Linked DNA regions of Homo sapiens: all the other regions are linked to region 3. Evidence: promoter capture Hi-C in human tissues and cell types (Jung and others, 2019). All regions are on one chromosome and are shown on one strand. Each heading gives the region's core, a stretch centred on a gene start or on the middle of the fragment in contact. The rest is flanking DNA. Distances are from core to core; before and after follow the strand shown. Region 1 holds the start of RIF1 (replication timing regulatory factor 1). Region 2 overlaps PRPF40A (pre-mRNA processing factor 40A). Region 3 holds the start of STAM2 (signal transducing adaptor molecule 2).

Region 1 (3,492 bases), core at 399-2,898, 770 kb after region 3:
ATGCCTATAATCCCAGCTATTCAGGAGGCTGAGGCAAGAGAATCGCTTGAACCCGAGAGGCGGAGGTTTCAGTGAGCCGAGCCCGAGCCTGAGCCATTGCACTCTCGCCTGGGCAACAAGAGCAAAACTACACCTCAAAACAAAAAAACAAAACCAAAAAAAAAAACCAAACTACCAAAAGTGAAAAACTGTTTAACAAACAGATACATACCTTTAAAACTTTGTACAGCCGAGGAAGTTTTTTCTCAATTTCTGTAATTACTTCTTTTCCTTCTTCTCCAGTCATACGACTTAAAAAGCAGGAAGAACACAAGTTTAAGTAGTTGACAGGAAAAAAAAAAATACTCTCAAAAATACATGTACAATCTTTTTAAAAATTACTTTCTAACTCCTGCAAATGAATTGACCCAGTAGGTAAGGTCCTTAAGGGTATACAGAATATATAATGCAATATATATCAGAAATGAAAGTAGAAAAACCCTCAGAATAAGTTTTTACATCGAGTACATGCAAGTTGTGACAACCTGACTCCAAAAAGACAGAACAGGGATCCCTATTCCTAGTTACTAACGATTTGCTAAGCCTTTCCAAAGGGTTTTACAAAACTTTAGTACATTTCTATGAAAATTACTTTGAAGCATTTTGCAATTAATAAAAATCAGTGTATTGCTCTGTTAAAAAAACTCTGGGTAGCCACATTTTCCCAACACATCGGAGGTTTACACTGAAGACCCCTCCTCCAACAACTACTTCCAACCGAAACTTTTAAAAATCCCTCGCTTGCAAAACACACGTGCATGCTCCCTCGTTCCAAACACACACCTCAAGCGCAGCAGCAGCAGTACCCGGGAACGTCACCTAGAATACATCTCCCCCGCCCCCCAAGGCGTCCGCGACTCGGGCGTCCTCACATTTGCTAGACTTCTAGAACTCACATTCATTCTACGCGCCCCTCCCAACCACCTTCTTTCTCCCCACTATAGAGCGCCCCACTCTCCGCTACGCCCCGTGGCGGACCTCACCTGGTCAGAGTCAGGTAAGCGTCAGTCTGCCCTCCATGGGAGGCAGAAGGGTCTTCCAAAGTCTCCAACAGCGGCGCGAGGGGGCTCTGACCCCTGGCCGTCATGTCGGCCACCCTGAGGCCCGAACCGGAAGAGGAGAAAATCCAGTGACCGATGGAAACAGCCCCGCGGCGGCCCAGTGTGAGTCCGGCCCTCACACCCGCACGCCCGCCCGGGCCTCACAGCCACGCCGCGTCTGCACCCCAGGCCTCCGAATCACCAAACCCCAGCGCGAACCTCCTCCGGCGCCCGACACCAGACACCTGAGCCCACGCCACATTCGGGCCTGGGCCCGCTCCCGCCACCACTTTCCCGGGCAGCTTTCAACAGAGGGAGGAGATCGGCGGAGGGCGGGAGAAGCCCGGGGAACGAGGCATCTCGCCGCGAGGGGGCGGAGGGTGGGCAGACTGAGGGTTCCCCGCGGCCTACCACTGTCACCCCGATATTTATCCCACCTAGGAAGATCAGGACAGGGTTCTCTCCGCCTCTGCCCCTCAGCACCCAGACGCTGCCAGAGCTCGACTTTCCCAGCTCCGGCTGTTTACTCACGCGTGCGGCGCGCTCCCTCCTAGACCAAGATGGCGGCTGGGCGGGCCCAGGAGTGCGCGGGAGTAGGTTAGGCCTGGCGGGAGAAGTTCGAGCCAATCCAACAGTCAGCGGCACACCGGAGTTATCGATCGCCTCCCTTCCCATCCCTTCCCATCCCTTCCCTGCCCAGCTGCCGCGTCACGCCCCTCTGGTGAGCATCAGGTGGTGGTGTTTTGCCTAAGGCGAGAGACTTGAAATTCAAAATGTGAGTTAATTGCTCAGACTCACTAGACTGAACATAGTGGGCCCTCAGACTAAGTGTTCAAACTCCAAGTCCAGTGCTTGTTGAAGTTTTAGCAACAAATCAGTTAGCAAAAGGAGATAACGTACTGTTGGGTTTAAGACTAAGAGCTGGCCGGGCGCGGTGACTCACACCTTGTAATCCAAGCACTTTGGGAGGCCGAGTCTGAGGTCAGGAGTTCGAGACCAGCCTGGCCAACACATGGTGAAACCCCGTCTCTACTTAAAAAAAACAAAAATACAAAAATTAGTTGGGTGTGGTGGCGCACGCCTGTAGTCCCAGCCACTTGGGAAGCTGAGGCAGGAGAATCGCTTAAACCCGGGAAGCGGAGGTTGCAGTGGGCCGAGATCACGCCACTGCACTCCAGCCTGAGCGACAGAGTAAGAGTAAGACTCCGTCTCTCAAAAAAAAAAAAAAAGAAAGAAAGAAAAAGAAAAGAACTGTATCTCAAGCTGGTCTAGATTCCAGCTGGTCTAGGTTCCATGTGACTTTAGCAAGTTAATTAACCTATGCCTCAATTTCCTCCTCTATAAAATAGGGCTTTTAATAGGTGAAGTGAGAAAAGGTTGGAGAGGCCAATGGTTCTCAGGTCTTAAGCGTACATAACAATGGCCTGGGGATATTCGTTATTAAACTGCAGATTCCTGGGCCCCGCCCATATGCATTGTAATTCAGTAGATTTAGGTAGCTCCCGAGGATGTGCATTCTTCTGTTAGGCCCCTGGGGGGTTGAAGGGTGGGATTTGGCCAGGGCTTCTTCCCTAGAGAAACGTCAGTAAACACAATGACAGTCATTTCTCCTTACTGTGAATATGCTGCTCCTCCCCCGCCTTTTTTTTTTTTTAAGACGGAGCCTCGTTCTTTCGCCCAGGCTGGAGTGCAGTGGTGCGATCTCGGCTCACTGCAACCTCTGCCTCCCGGGTTCAAGCGAGTCTCTGACTCAGCCTCCCGAGCAGCTGGGATTACAGGCGCCCGCCACCACACCTGGCTAATTTTTGTACTTTTAGTAGAGACGGGGTTTCACCATCTTGGCCGTGCTGGTCTCGAACCCCTGACCTCGTGATCCACCCGCCTCGGACACCCAAAGTGCTGGGATTACAGGCGTGAGCCACCGCGCCCGGTCTGCTTCTCCCCTTTTCATATGCCTTCGTGCACTCTCCACAACAGACAGGATTGCATTAACTCTAAATCAGACACATGAAGCCCAGCAGCAATGGAACTCTCCATCATGGGTTCCTGGCCCAGGATTTGAGCCCTCACTCACATGTGCTGCAACTCTCAGCTCTAGAAGTGGGATGTTGCTTTTTGCTCTTCTTTGTGTCATCTGCACTTAGCAAAATGACTGCCAAACGACGCAGTACATACATAGTATGCTTATATATATATTTATTTATTTATATGTATTTATATATATTTATATTTATTTACATATATTTATATATATACACACACACACATACATATATACATATACATATATATATATATATATATATTTTTTTTTTTTTTTTTTTTTTTTTTTTTTTTGAGACGGAGTCTCGCTCTATCACCCAGGCTGGAGTGCACTGACCTGATCTCAGCTCACTGCATCCTCCGCCTCCTG
Region 2 (3,479 bases), core at 670-3,169, 520 kb before region 3:
AATTTGTACAAATATTGTCTACCCTTTATTTATCTAAATATTTCTTATCAAAAAATGATGTTTTGAATTTATATTGCTCTAGATCGGGGTATCCAATCTTTTGGCTCCCCTGGGCCATTTGGAAGAAGAATAATAGTCTTGGGCCACTCATCAGATACACTAACACTAACAATATCTGATGAGCTTAAAAAAAAAAACAGCCAAAAAAACAATGTTTTAATAAAGCTTACAAATTTGTGTTGAGACACATTCAAAGCTGTCCTGGGCCACATGTGGCCCATGGCCTGCAGGTTGGACAGGCTTGCTTTAGATGAAGAGGAAGTAGGTTAAATGATTTCCACAAAATGCCACCAGTTACTTTTGGTTGCTAAGGATATTTCCATTTATTTCCGATCGAATGAATGTTTAGTTCTCTTTAAAGATTCAGTTTGTGCATTTATTCAGGATTTTTGGTATTTATTTATATGTTCATAAAATAATTTAGTGGTATATGAGATAGTTGTTTTAAAATACTAAACAGCCTTTGTAGGTTGTACTTATCTTACGGAATTTTACTTTAGCACACTTATGAAGAACCCCAAGTAAAAAGGTAGACATGAAACTTACTTAGATTATCAATTTGCTGCTACAGGTTTGCAGCAAGAATGGTTTTTAAAAAACCACCAGATTTAGGAGTTAATTTTTTTTTCAGGTGATTTTGTTTGTAATACTAGACAAGAGATACGTCCAATTGTTTGTGATTTCTTTCCGGTAGGAAAAACTTCAGTAAATAACTATGAAGGAAAGAACTTGTGAAGTCCCCATGTGAAGTTCTTCACTTTTAAGGTGCTTTCTTTTCATATCATGGTAAAATTGGACCAACTGAATTTACACTTTGTAAAATTCACTCACTGTAGCATTGATATTGCTTCATTACTACCACTTTTTATTTTCATTTTTTAAAATATGTAGAGTGATAAATGAAATATGTTTGTTTATATCTAACATTAGAAACTTTCTGGGATGCTCAGAATGACTGAACAGGTTGTGTGATGCTCCCTAGTGTTTTGTTCATTTATTTTTTATTTTCCTCAAACTGATGATTCTTCTGAGAACATCTTGATAATTAGTTTTATACGTATTAAAAGAATAGGAAACAGAAATGGTTTACATAGTATAAATATACATATGGTTGGCCACTTATGAATTGTATAAAATATATATCAGCTACGTTTTTTAAAGGTGCCAAATTGTTCATAATATTCAGATGTTTAACATTTTAGGAAATTTAGTTTATGTCTCAAACAACTAAAAATTTTTAATTACAGCACTTTTACATATAATACCAAAGTTGTTTAAATGGGAATTTGTAAAGCAGTACATGGTTTTGATTTTATAGTATGCTTCACATTAAGTAAATATGAACTCTACCACTTTGTAGCCTTAAGAATGATGTGGCTCATGGAATTTGTTGTGGCGTTATTGTAGCAACTAAGTTAATAATTTTTCACCTTCAGTATTTTGAAGCAACATCCCATTTTCATTGAACTTAAATGGAGAGACACAGTATTACATTTGTGTGCCACATAGTGCCATATTGGTAAATGACAGACTACATACACAATGGTGGTGCTGTTAGATCATATACTACCTTATTTTTACTATGTCTTTTCTATGTCTAGATATACAAATACTTAGCATTGTGTTACAGTTGCCTCCAGTATTCAGTACTGTAACATGTTATAAAGGTTTGTAGCCTAGGAGTAATAGGCTATGCCATAATAGCCTAGATGTGTAGTAGACTATAACCATCCAGGTTTGTGTAAGTGCATTATATGATACACAATGATGATATCTCCTGATGACACAATTCTCAGAACATACGGTCATTAAATGACACATGACTGTATTTTATGTGCCCCTAAAAGTGGGAAAAAAAAAACACCTAAATGGAAAATCTGAAACTTACTCAACAGATAAAGTTGAGACACCAAAGGGCTATACCCTCCATGGAAAGAAGAACTATACCTACCATGCCAGAGGAGACAGTAAAGAAATTTGAATGTTTTAACTCTTATTATTGGGATGAGGGAGGAAAAAATCACGTCTGAGGAGTTGAGCCGTAGCCAATTCTCATAAGTTTGCATCCTGTATTCCCATTAACAGTAAGTGTTATAGATAGCTTAGAAACTTTTAATGGTCTCAGATTGATGGTGCTGCCAAAGTGACTGGCATAAATCAACACAAATTCTTTAAAAGATTCAGCTTCAAAGAAAGAGATTATAAAAAGTATCTCTATGTTATGTATATCCTAGAATTAATAGAAAATGGGAATCATAACATTGCCACAAAGTAGGTTTTTTAGACTTTGAAAAACAGACTTTTCTGGGATGCTCAGTCCTCTAAAGGAACTCTAAATTTCTCAAATTCTTACAATAGTTTTTCATACAAAATACAGTATTTTGCATATTTGTGGTTTTGTTCTTTGGTTTTATGTAAACATCACAGTTTTGGTTTAAATTACATTAATGAATGATCGATTTACTCTCAGGATATTCAGTTATATTTAATTTAGGACTTGCAGATTAGTTTGTTGGGTAAAACAAGATTAACTAGTCTTCACCCCCAGTATTTACAGAGATACCAAGGGAGAATGTAGCTTTTTATTTGACATTAAATCTCATTCTATAATCAATACCATGATTTCCAGTCTGAAAGAACATTTTTGAGGTGTTTAAACATTTTAGGTATGGGAAGAAGAACAATTAAAGAGAGAACTCTGTCAGACTCTATGTTCTTCAGTGATTTTCAATTACTGCCTACTGGAGGTCTCATTGGCCTGGTCTACTAAACTCTTAAATATTTGTTTTTTTGTGGCTTTGGTTTTAAAGAAGATTTTATCTTTATGTGTGTGATAAAGTCAGGATATTTCAATTTGAATTTATATTTATTTGTACAGTCTGCTGCTACCATAAGAGAATTTTTTTTTTTTTTTTTTTTTTTTTGAGACGAAGTCTCTCTGTTGCCCAGGCTGGAGTGCAGTGGCGCAATCTCAGCTCACTGCAGCCTCCGCATCCCAGGTTCAAGTGATTCTCCTGCCTCAGCCTCCCAAGTAGCTGGGACTGCAGGCGCGTGCCACCATGCCTGGGTAATTTTTTGTATTTATAGTAGAGACGGGTTTCACCGTGTTAGCCAGGAAGATCTCGATTTCCTGACCTCATGATCCGCCTGCCTTGGCCTCCCAAAATGTTGGGATTACAGGAGTGAGCCACCACGCCCGGCGAGAGACTGTTCTATTGCATTATGCAGATTTTACTCTACTTTAAAAAATACCTTTAATTCTTCCGAGAAGTTACTTTGATTAGTTTTTCTCTCTAAGTTTTCAGACCTTGATCTCAATTTAGCTTAGAATTCTAGTTTTGGTTATGTTACTAGCTTTTGATTTTATATGTAGGTTACTTAAAGTAGCAGGCAGTTTCCCTGTTGCCTGTCATGCATCT
Region 3 (3,596 bases), core at 613-3,112:
CACTCCAGTCTGGGTAACAGAGTGAGACTCCATCTCAAAAAAAATTTTTTTTTACTATTCTGCTACCCAATATCCTTAAATAATTATTGAGTGCCTTAATCAAAATAAAAAATTCCCAGCTTGCCCTTTAAAATTCTTGTCAATCTGTTTCCTCTTATACCTAGTCAGCCTTGTTTTCCATTCCAACACTAAGTCTTAGACAAAAAGTCTTTATCTGTCCAAAAAATCTCTAAGTCTTTTTTTTTTTTCTTTTTTCGAGACAGAGTCTTGCTCTGTTGCCCAGGCTGGAGTGCAGTTGCCTGATCTTGGCTCACTGTAACCTCTGCCTCCTGGGCTCAAGTGATTCTCGTGCCTCAGCCTCCCAAGAAGTTGGCATTACAGGCTTGCGCCACCATGCCTGGCTAATTTTTGTATTTTTAGTAGAGACGGTTTTTCGCCATGTTAGCCAGTCTGGTCTTGAACTCCTGGCCTCAAGCAGTCTGCCCGCCTTGGCCTCCCAAAGTGCTGGGATTACATGCGTGAGCCACCATGCCCGGCCTCCCAATTTATCTTGAACATCCCTAGGTTCAACGTTCTATGAAAAACAGCCCCTTCTGCACGATTCCTTCTCATTTGTGCCCCGAACTTTATAAAATGCAACCACCTTTCTGAATGTGTATGAGCTCTCTATAGCATCAGGTCTTTATACTAGAGTTTGTAAAATGGTTTTGATTAATCTATTATTTAAAATGTTGGAGTAATTCTCAACATTTAAACATCATTGAAAAATTGCAAACTCTAGTAGGACCCACATTTCAATAAATGGCTGCAATTTACCAGTAGTTGACATCTTTAGATACGCACTGTTCAGTTAGAAAGTTACAGCTTCATTCGAAAAGCATTGAGCGTCTATTACTTGGGACACTGTTTTAGACGCTGGGGATATAGTAGTGACCAAAACTTATCAGGGAGTTTATAATCTAATGAGGAGGAGAGACAGGCAACATAATCATTACTACAGTTTTCTAAGAGGAACAGAGAATATGTGGGTGGGAAGGGTGCTTGGGCTTTTGCATTCATTTAAATACCTGGCTGGATGCTGTTGGAATTTGAGTTTATGACTCGTACTACCATCCGAATCGTCATACACCATCATGTACGTTATGCACTGCCCCTATAAAACTCTCAACAAGTCTAAGGCAGGGAGTGTGCCTCCTTCGCCTTTGGATTCCGGGGGCCCAGCAGTGTTTTTATGGAGGGGACACGATGGAAAGCGAAAAGTTAGGCGTAGTTACTTCGACCACCGCTGTCCCGGGTGGTTATTCTGACGGGGTTTGGACTGGGCGCCTGGGAGGGTGCAACACAATAATTGTTGAAGAGCAGTCAGGTCTTTCGCAGAATCTCAAAGCCACCTCCGCGCCGGCAGCTCCGTTTCTAGGGAAACAGGACTGTAACGCGTACGCGTCGTGGGTCCTCGTTCTCTAGCTACGAGTCCTGCCGCTCTGAAACAAACTAAATTCGTGACAAGAACTTGGCCCTCAGAGCCCGTCGTCCAACGCGAAAAACCACGGGTAACCGCGCCCCCTGCCGCGCCGCCGCTGGCACTGCAGCTTCCGGGGTCGTCCAGTTCCAGGCGGGACTACTTCCGGCTCCGAAGGTCCCCGGCTTCGTGGCTAGCCGGGGTCCTAGCGCTGGAAAGGTGGCCGTAGCGGCCGCCTGACCCCTACAAAAGTCTGGGACAGGGGCAGCGACAAAGGCCTTGGGAGGACGCCCATGGTCGGAGGGATCTCGCCCCGGGAGAAAAGTTGGGACAGGAGCGCGGGATCGAAGGGTGGACTCCGAGCCGGCCTGTCAGGCAAGAGCCGGGCAGGTGCGGTGGCGGAAGTGCAGGGACGGAGGCCGAAGCGGAGCGGTCTAGGGAGCCGCGGCCGCGGGTCACCCGGCGGGTAGCAGTTGCTGAGTGTCAGCTAGACAGCAGCGACTAGGGCTCGGGCGCCGGCGAGATGCCTTTGTTCACCGCCAACCCCTTCGAGCAAGACGTGGGTGAGTGCTGTGCCCGGTCCTGGACTGCTGTGTGCCTGGCCCTGGACTGCTGTTTGTCCGGCTAGAAAGTGGGCGGTAGCGACTCCGGGGACTAGGAAGCAAAGCGAAGGGAGGGGAGGGGCGGTGCCGCCCGCTCCTTCGACGTTGGGATTTTTCTGGGGCAACCTCGGCGCGTCGCTAGCGGTCTGGGGAGTGCTTCCTGCCGCCTGAGTTTGGGGACCCTCAAAGGGCCGTTCTCCTTGCCAAGCGTAGGATTTGGGAAGAGCCTAGGGCTCGCTGGAGACTGGACTGATTAAGTAGTTGTGGAGTTGGTGATTAAAAACTTCCTGCTCGTTCGACAGCTGGTTACCTCCGTCTTTGCCCCATCGTTTTCTGAAGATGATGCAGCAGTGGAGACCCTGCTGTCTAGAGAAGCCCAACACTAGACACTTGACACCTAGACAACCGCATTGAATAGGAAGAACTTACTTCCCCATTATTTATATTACTCATGCATTCAATCCCTGATAGGGTAGCTTTAAGATTTATTACAATTGTAAAGGTGTTGCTCTTCATCCCCGGATTGCAAAGATTGCGCGGGTGCTAGGAGATGTTCGGTTTTAGAGTATGAAAAGGAAATCTCCAGTCTCAAAACACTCCAGAACAACAAGTATTTTACATGTTGCAGTCATAAAGCGCTGGTCTCTCAGTGACTATAGAATGAGAAAAACATGGATAAGATATATACGAAATTATTTAGGAAATTTGAGTAACACTAAAACAAACTGAGAAATATATGTATGTATTCTCGAAAGTCTGGGTCTCACTATGTTGCCCAGGTGCGACTAGAATTCCTCCCACCTCAGCCTCCACCTCCGTTTCCCCTTCCCGAGTAGCTGGGACTACAGGTTTGTTTTTTGTTTGTTTTTGTAGCAGTAGTTAACAGAACCCTAGGTAAATTTTTAGAACTTGGAAATGGGGTTGGGGCGGGGAGACTCAGAAGAATACTGCACATCTCAGCAGTAATTCCCCTGTTTCATAGTTAACATTTGGTTATTAGGAGACTGTAGAAAGTGCCCTATTCTGATACGTTGTGTAATCCCCTAAGCCATTTTAAAAAACATGTTTGAGTCAAATAATATATGTAAATAGTTCAAATATGTATGTTCCTTACTTCATTAAACTTTTTTTTTGGTGGATGAATACAGGTGACTGGCGTAAATCTGGGAAACATCACTCTTAAGGCTCACTGTTTCCTTTTGGAACGCCTCATTGCAGTATTCTTTTGTTTGAATCATACAACCTTTGTGCAACCTGTACTTTTAAAAAATTGCTATTATGAACACTTTGATTCTGTTCTAATGAAATAAAACAGAAGGCGCAAAATAGAATTAGACAAATGATTTTAAAACTTAAAAACCGTGAATTCTTTTCTTCAATATAAATTTTTCTTGAAAGTTCATTGTTTTCTGATGGAAAAATTCTCTGGTACAAGTAGGCAGAGTTGCTCTGTCTGTTCTGTTCTAAACCTTTCCCTGCCTGGCTCCCGAGGCCCCAGCATTGGTTTAGTGGATCACAGTTTAGTCCTACAGTTG

The links. Contacts are between HindIII fragments. The study calls those that stand out against the background at their distance.
Region 1: the fragment with the promoter of RIF1 here is called in contact with the fragment with the promoter of STAM2 in region 3 in 1 of the 25 tissues and cell types used here (stomach).
Region 2: a fragment that was not itself captured here is called in contact with the fragment with the promoter of STAM2 in region 3 in 1 of the 25 tissues and cell types used here (lymphoblastoid cells).

Annotation. Positions count from the first base shown.
Region 1 is chr2:151,408,058-151,411,549 of GRCh38, reverse strand. It overlaps RIF1 (replication timing regulatory factor 1), which reads right to left and starts at 1,648. Exons shown (of 36, transcript NM_018151.5): 1 at 1,517-1,648; 2 at 1,023-1,136; 3 at 212-290. The coding sequence starts at 1,126. RefSeq lists enhancers at 1,576-1,735, 1,340-2,038, 2,039-2,737 and a silencer at 2,441-2,735. The HindIII fragment of the contact is 11,212 bases long and covers 1-3,492 here.
Region 2 is chr2:152,695,990-152,699,468 of GRCh38, reverse strand. The region is part of intron 2 of PRPF40A (pre-mRNA processing factor 40A); the gene reads left to right. Among named protein-coding and RNA genes, the nearest start is that of PRPF40A, 20 kb to the left of the region's middle. The HindIII fragment of the contact is 9,200 bases long and covers 1-3,479 here.
Region 3 is chr2:152,174,029-152,177,624 of GRCh38, reverse strand. STAM2 (signal transducing adaptor molecule 2) reads left to right here and starts at 1,862. Exons shown (of 14, transcript NM_005843.6): 1 at 1,862-2,022. The coding sequence starts at 1,983. It overlaps LOC105373689 (a long non-coding RNA gene), which reads right to left and starts at 2,092. Exons shown (of 3, transcript XR_923477.3): 1 at 1,068-2,092. RefSeq lists enhancers at 1,505-1,924, 1,401-1,924, 2,085-2,224, 2,275-2,324. The HindIII fragment of the contact is 11,387 bases long and covers 1-3,596 here.